Linked DNA regions of Homo sapiens: region 2 is linked to region 1. The links are contacts of gene promoters, found by promoter capture Hi-C in blood cells and fetal thymus (Javierre and others, 2016). All regions are on one chromosome and are shown on one strand. Each heading gives the region's core, a stretch centred on a gene start or on the middle of the fragment in contact. The rest is flanking DNA. Distances are from core to core; before and after follow the strand shown. Region 1 holds the start of KRTAP4-4 (keratin associated protein 4-4). Region 2 overlaps LOC100505782 (a long non-coding RNA gene).

Region 1 (3,007 bases), core at 131-2,630:
ATAACTAAAGCATGTGTTCACCAACTCTCACTCATTTGTTGAATACTATTCCAAGAGGCTTTAACTCTACAGTCCAGAGCTTGCTCCTTGGCTAGAGAAACTCTTCAAGAAGAGAGTTCCAGGTGCTTGCTCTAAGAAACCACCATTGTATATTAGAATAAAGTGTGCTGAGGAAATAGAGGTGGTGCCCCTGAAATTACATTCTGCAGAGAAGAACAACAGAAAAATTGACTGGTAATTGACCACACTCAAAAAAGAAAAATAATGAGACACAGTATCTGTATATTTCTATGCCTGAAAATTTATTTAAGATTTATTTAGATAAATATTTGTTTAAAATGGAATAGCTCCATATGAGAAATTATGGCAGAGAGCAAATATTTCAATTAAGATAGTTGACAGATTTCAGAGCAAATTACAACTTATGTTCATTTGGTAGAGAGGTAAAATGTGGGGGGAGCATATATTTGGAGGCCAGATTCAATCTAAGAATTGGTTGGAACTGAAGTTTTCCAACTAGCTTCCCATAACTCAGCTCATAGATGAGCTACATCAAGAATGCTGGTTGATGAGAATCTGGTGAGTCCAGATGACAGCCTCAGCAGCAAGAAGCACTAGAGCAGGTTGGGCGGCAGCACATGGTCTGGCAGCAGTTGGGGCGGCAGCAACTGGAGATGCAGCAGGAGAGCCTGCAGCAGCTGAAGCCACAGCAGGAGGAGCTACTGCTGCTAGAGATACTGCAGGAAGGCTGGCAGCAGCTGGAAATGCAATAGCTGGGGTGGCAGCAGGTGGTCCTGTAGCAGGTGGTTTGCCAGCAGATGGGCTAGCAGCATAGAGACTGGCCACAATGGGGCCTGTAGCACCTGGACACACAGCAGCTGGGGCGGCAGCAGGTGGTTCTGCAGCAGGTGGTCTGGCAGCACTGGGGTCTGCAGCAGCTGGACACACAGTAGCTGGGGCAGCAGCAGGTGGGCTGGCAGCACACAGACTGGCAGCACTGGGGCCTGCAGCAGCTGGGGCGGCAGCAGGTGGTCCTACAGCAGGTAGTCTGGCAGCATTGGGGTCTGCAGCAGGTGGGCTGGCAGCACACAGACTGGCAGCACTGGGGTCTGCAGCAGCTGGACACACAGCAGCTGGGGTGGCAGCAGGTGGTCCTGCAGCAGGTGGTCTGGCAGCACTGGGGTCTGCAGCAGCTGGACACACAGCAGCTGGGGCGGCAGCAGGTGGTCCTGCAGCAGGTGGTCTGGCAGTAGCTGGGACGGCAGCAGTTCTCTAGGCCACAGCCCTGGTCAGAGCACACAGAGCCACAACAGGAGTTGACCATGGTGTCAGAGGGTGGAGGTTCTGGGTGGGTTTCCAGGAAGGAGGGTTTGGAAGGCTTGGAAGTCTCCTTGCCCCAGATCCTCTTTTATACCCTGCTCAGGGCTGATGTCATCGGATGCAGCACTCTTTCCTTGTCATTGTTTGTTCTGATGAGCAGGCAATTATCAAATTAGGCAAGTTTGTTTTTCTGCTTAAATTTGTCAACATGGAGAAAAGCATTATTTCCTTCCCCTGGTGTGTTAGGATTCTTCAGGTCAGCTCTTCTTGAACAACCTCTTGTGTGCCTCTTGCTGCAGCTTCCTCCTTGAGCTGCCATGTGACATCTGCCTGCAGGTACCATGTGCTGCAGCCTCATTTTCCTTAATACATTATGTCTGACCTTGGGTGATTTTAATTCTTCTAGGCCCGTAATTTTCTTTTGGTGACTCAGGAGGAGAAAGCTGTGCTTTAATCTCATGGCATGTTTGTTATAGATCAAGTGAGCAATGAAGGTTTGAATGTGAAACAGGTGACCAGTGGCATGAAAACAAATACTATTAGGATATATTCCTTGCCACCTTCCATACAATGAATCATGACCCATTTTCTAGATGTTCTACTGGGGAAAGCAGAATTGTTTTAAGGTGGACATCTAAGTCATGAATTATCGATGCTTCTTTTTCTTGAGAAACAACACTCCAAAACTCAGTTTCAGGGCCTTTAGGGGAAATTGGCTACAGAGATCAGCTATACTAAAAGGTTCAGGTCCCTCCGCTCTCTGCTCTGAGGGGCTGATTTTCCTTCTGACTTTTCCTTCCTGTCTCTCTGGCTTTAACAATCACATTGAGTCATCTCCTCTATTTCTAAGGTTTACTTGCCAACCTAAGGTAAAGGACCCAGTGTCCTTGCTATATATATATAATATATATATATATATATAATATATATTATATATATACATATATATACTATATATAGTATACACACACACGTATATACACACTATATATAAATATACACACTATATATAAATATGCACACTATATATAAATATACACACATACACACACATATATGTGTGTGTATGTATGTGTGTGTATGTGTGCGTGTGTGTGTGTATATATATATATATATATATATATACACACACACACGCACACATACACACACATTATGTCTGACCTTGGGTGATTTTAATTCTTCTAGGCCCATAATTTTCTTTTGATGTATATGTATATATATATATACACTCACACACACACAGGTTTGGGGGAATATATATATTCTGCCAAAGGACCTTAGGAATATATATATATATTATACATATATAGATGGGTAGATAGAGAACCTTATATATAGGTAATATAGGAATATATATATTTACATATTTATGAATATATAATATATATTCTTCATATATGTTTGTATTTAATAGTATGTATAAATATATATATAATATATACAATAACATATTTAGAAATATATATATTTATATATATATGTATTTACCTTTATCTCCTAAGGCCCTTTACCTTAGGAATATTATGCACACACACACACACACACACTCAAACACACACACACACACACTCCCCCAAACCTGGATGTTAAAGAAACCCAAGGAAGAAGGCAGAAACTTCCTGTCTTTGTGCCACCCTCCACTTTGGGATGCTCTTGGGTTAGCAATTTCTGTTTGGACTGGTCT
Region 2 (3,007 bases), core at 149-2,648, 240 kb after region 1:
AGAGCAGGGAAAAAGAAATGAGAAGACTTGGGGTTGAGTGCGTGGAGCTGCCCCTCACCTGCTGTGAGGTGCAGAGGGGGCATTTCACCTCCCTACACCTGTACTTCTCCCACTGCACGATGGGGATTGTGATGTCTGTTCCCCTCTCTCAAGGTTGTTTGGGGCCTCCATTTGGATACAACACAAAGTACTTTAACAAGTGTTTTGTAAATGGTGAAACAATGAACATCTATAGGGATTCTGTTTCCCTCCTCCTCTTTCTCAATAGACAAGGTGGTTTTAAAATGGCAGGAAGTGAGTTGAGCTTCTTTGTCAACTCCTAGTTTATTAAAATTGCCAGAGTCCTCAAGCTTCAAGATCCTGTGAGATACTAAAGGACTTTTATTCCTTGTACCACCCTTTGTGGCATAAATTCTCAGAAACGTTTCTTCTAACATAAACATACTCATTTCCTTCAAGGAAAGGAATCAAAACAATGGGGTCATTATGATTCTATCATCCTTTTGACAAAATCTGAGACTTGGCCTCTGTAAAGCACAGTAGTTAAGAGCACAGTTGCTGGAGGCAGGCTGCTTGGATCTGAATCCTGGCTTCACCACCTAATAGCTGTGTGACCTTGGGCATGTTACTTAGCCTCTCTGAGTCTTGGCTACTTGTCTGCAAAATGAGAAAACCATAGCATTGGCTTTCTAGGATTGTTGTAATGATTAAATGAGTTTACCCATATGACTGTAGCTATAATTTAGACCAGCGCCTGGCTCATAGTAAGAGCTTGATGGATATATGGTTCTATGACAATGATGATGATGGTGAAGCTATATGATTTGATGATGATGATGATGATGATTCTGGTGATGGTGATGGTAATGATGACCTCTGTGGTTTCCAGGGAAACTCTTCACACACGACAAACACACAGATGTGCGTGCACACACACACATGTACTGTCTCATCAAAGCTAATCTTTTAATTAGAAATGAGAGAGCACTGGATGTGAACTTAAGAAACACAGGTCAATCACCCTGGGGCCCCACTGACTCACTTTATGTCACCAGCAGAATCCCTTAACCACTGAATGACTCACCTTCTCTCTCTCTCCCTTAAATGGGAAGGACAATGCTTGCCTGTGCCGTCATGGTGCAAGAATAAGTGGGTTTATTTTGTTAGACAGCTTTGAACTTGTTGGATGAAAGGAGCTATTTAAGTACAAAGGAGATGAGGGCAGCTGGGTCAGGTACTAAATTAAGACTAATCGAGATGGCTCTTCATTATTGAGAGCTTCTCTTGGGTAGGTGCCCAAGGGGTGTGTCACGTGTGCCAAAACAGTTTTACCACTTGAGAAAAAGAACAGAGGAGGGGAGGGCGTGGCAGCCTCTGACCCTTCTTGGGCTTCCTATGCTGGAAATCCCAGTGTCTCTCAAGCAGATCAGTCCTATGTACATGAGCAGTGACCAACAAGTAGGACGCTGGGCTTGAGAGCAGTTGGAGGCAGAGCAACAAGATTCTCACTTAAGCTCCCTCCAGCCTTGGGGCTCGGGACTGTGGTCACTCCAGCACCACACCGCTGTATCAGGAAGACCTGGATTAAACCAGAACCAGCTGTACTTGTAAATTTTTCAGCAAACTACAGTGATTCAGAGAATTCACAGAGGGAAAGGGAAGACCAAAACCAGCTCCTAAAGTAGATTTGGTGGTTCCACTTCAATGCCTGTGGTTTCACTGATCAATAAGACATAGAAAGCAGGGACGCACAGAGTTAGGGGGGCTACAGCCATCTCAACCAGCCCCATCAGTTCCCTAAGTGTTCCCCTCAACATCCCCATCAGTGATTCTGAAGCCTCTGCTTGTCTCCAAGGATAGGGAACTCACTGCTTCTCTTCTCTGGCCAGCTGTGATGCTGAATTCTGGAGATGTGCTGATTCTCAGCCACGGCTATCAAAATATGGAGCTTTTGATTCATGTTCTACCATCTGCAAATTCCAAGACAGACAGTTGCCATAAGGACTCACCAATGGGGGTTACTGGGGAGGTTGGATGGGTCAGCTTGTTTGGGCCTTTCTAGACTGATAGAAATAACTATCATGTAACATTTTCAGAGTTTTGCAATGTAAAAGAGAAAGGCTCTATCCTGATCTGATGGTATGAGGGATTCCTCACTGGAGGACATATCAGGACGGCAAGGCCAGCCCTTTCTGTAGAGGGTCTAGCTAGTCAAGGGCTCATTCCTCAAATAAACTTCCTAACCCAGTGTTTCTCAAACTTGAACCAACATCAGAATCACCTGCAAGTCATGCTAAAGCAGAATGCTGGTTCAGTAAGTCAGGGGTGGTGCTCAAGAATGTGCATGTCTAGCAAGTTCTCAGGTAATGCCAGTGCTACCTGCTGGCGGACCACGCTTTAAGAACCACTGTCCTAAACCTTCTCATGTTTAATTTGTTTCCCCCTCAAAGCTTCCAAAGAACGGGCTTTGGATCTGGTTCAAAGAGACTAGGTTTCAAGTCTTGACTCAGTAACCAACTGAGAATAATAACAGCTGCTTCTTCTTTGCAGGGCTGATGTGGTGCCCTGTGACACAATGTCGGCGAAGCCCCAGCCAGTGCCTTGTTCATAATGGGCATGTCATCCTAAAAGCTCAATTTAAGTTACCTGTTCTGGGGCTTCTGATTCATGTTCTACTGTCTACAAATTCCAAGCCAGACAGCTGCCAGGACTTACCAGTGGAGCTTACTGGGGAGCTTGGACGGGTCAGGTTGTTTGGGCCTTTCTAGACTGATGGCGATTACCATCAGTTAATATTTTCAGAGTTTTGCAACGGTCTGTGGTGCCGCAGATTTGAGCTCTTCCTTTACACAAGGACCAGGTGGCTTATCCAGATAAAAGGGAAATTTTACTTAGCGTCTATATTTTAAAAGCTCTATCTGTAAATCTGTCTCCAAATACACTTGGTGAGGTCCAAGGTTGGGTATCTCTCCTCTGTGCCACTTTGCCGCAGTCCCATTTTTAACTC

Evidence for each region. Contacts are between HindIII fragments. The CHiCAGO score rates a contact against its expected background, and 5 or more counts as called.
Region 2: a fragment that was not itself captured here is called in contact with the fragment with the promoter of KRTAP4-4 in region 1 in 2 of 17 cell types (total CD8 T cells and naive CD8 T cells); the score reaches 6.0 in total CD8 T cells.

What each region holds. Positions count from the first base shown.
Region 1 is chr17:41,159,368-41,162,374 of GRCh38, forward strand. KRTAP4-4 (keratin associated protein 4-4) reads right to left here and starts at 1,381. Exons shown (of 1, transcript NM_032524.2): 1 at 282-1,381. The coding sequence starts at 1,324. The coding sequence ends at 824. The HindIII fragment of the contact is 13,067 bases long and covers 1-3,007 here.
Region 2 is chr17:41,403,054-41,406,060 of GRCh38, forward strand. The region is part of intron 1 of LOC100505782 (a long non-coding RNA gene); the gene reads left to right. Among named protein-coding and RNA genes, the nearest start is that of KRT31, 6.9 kb to the left of the region's middle. RefSeq lists an enhancer at 637-1,836. The HindIII fragment of the contact is 2,100 bases long and covers 349-2,448 here.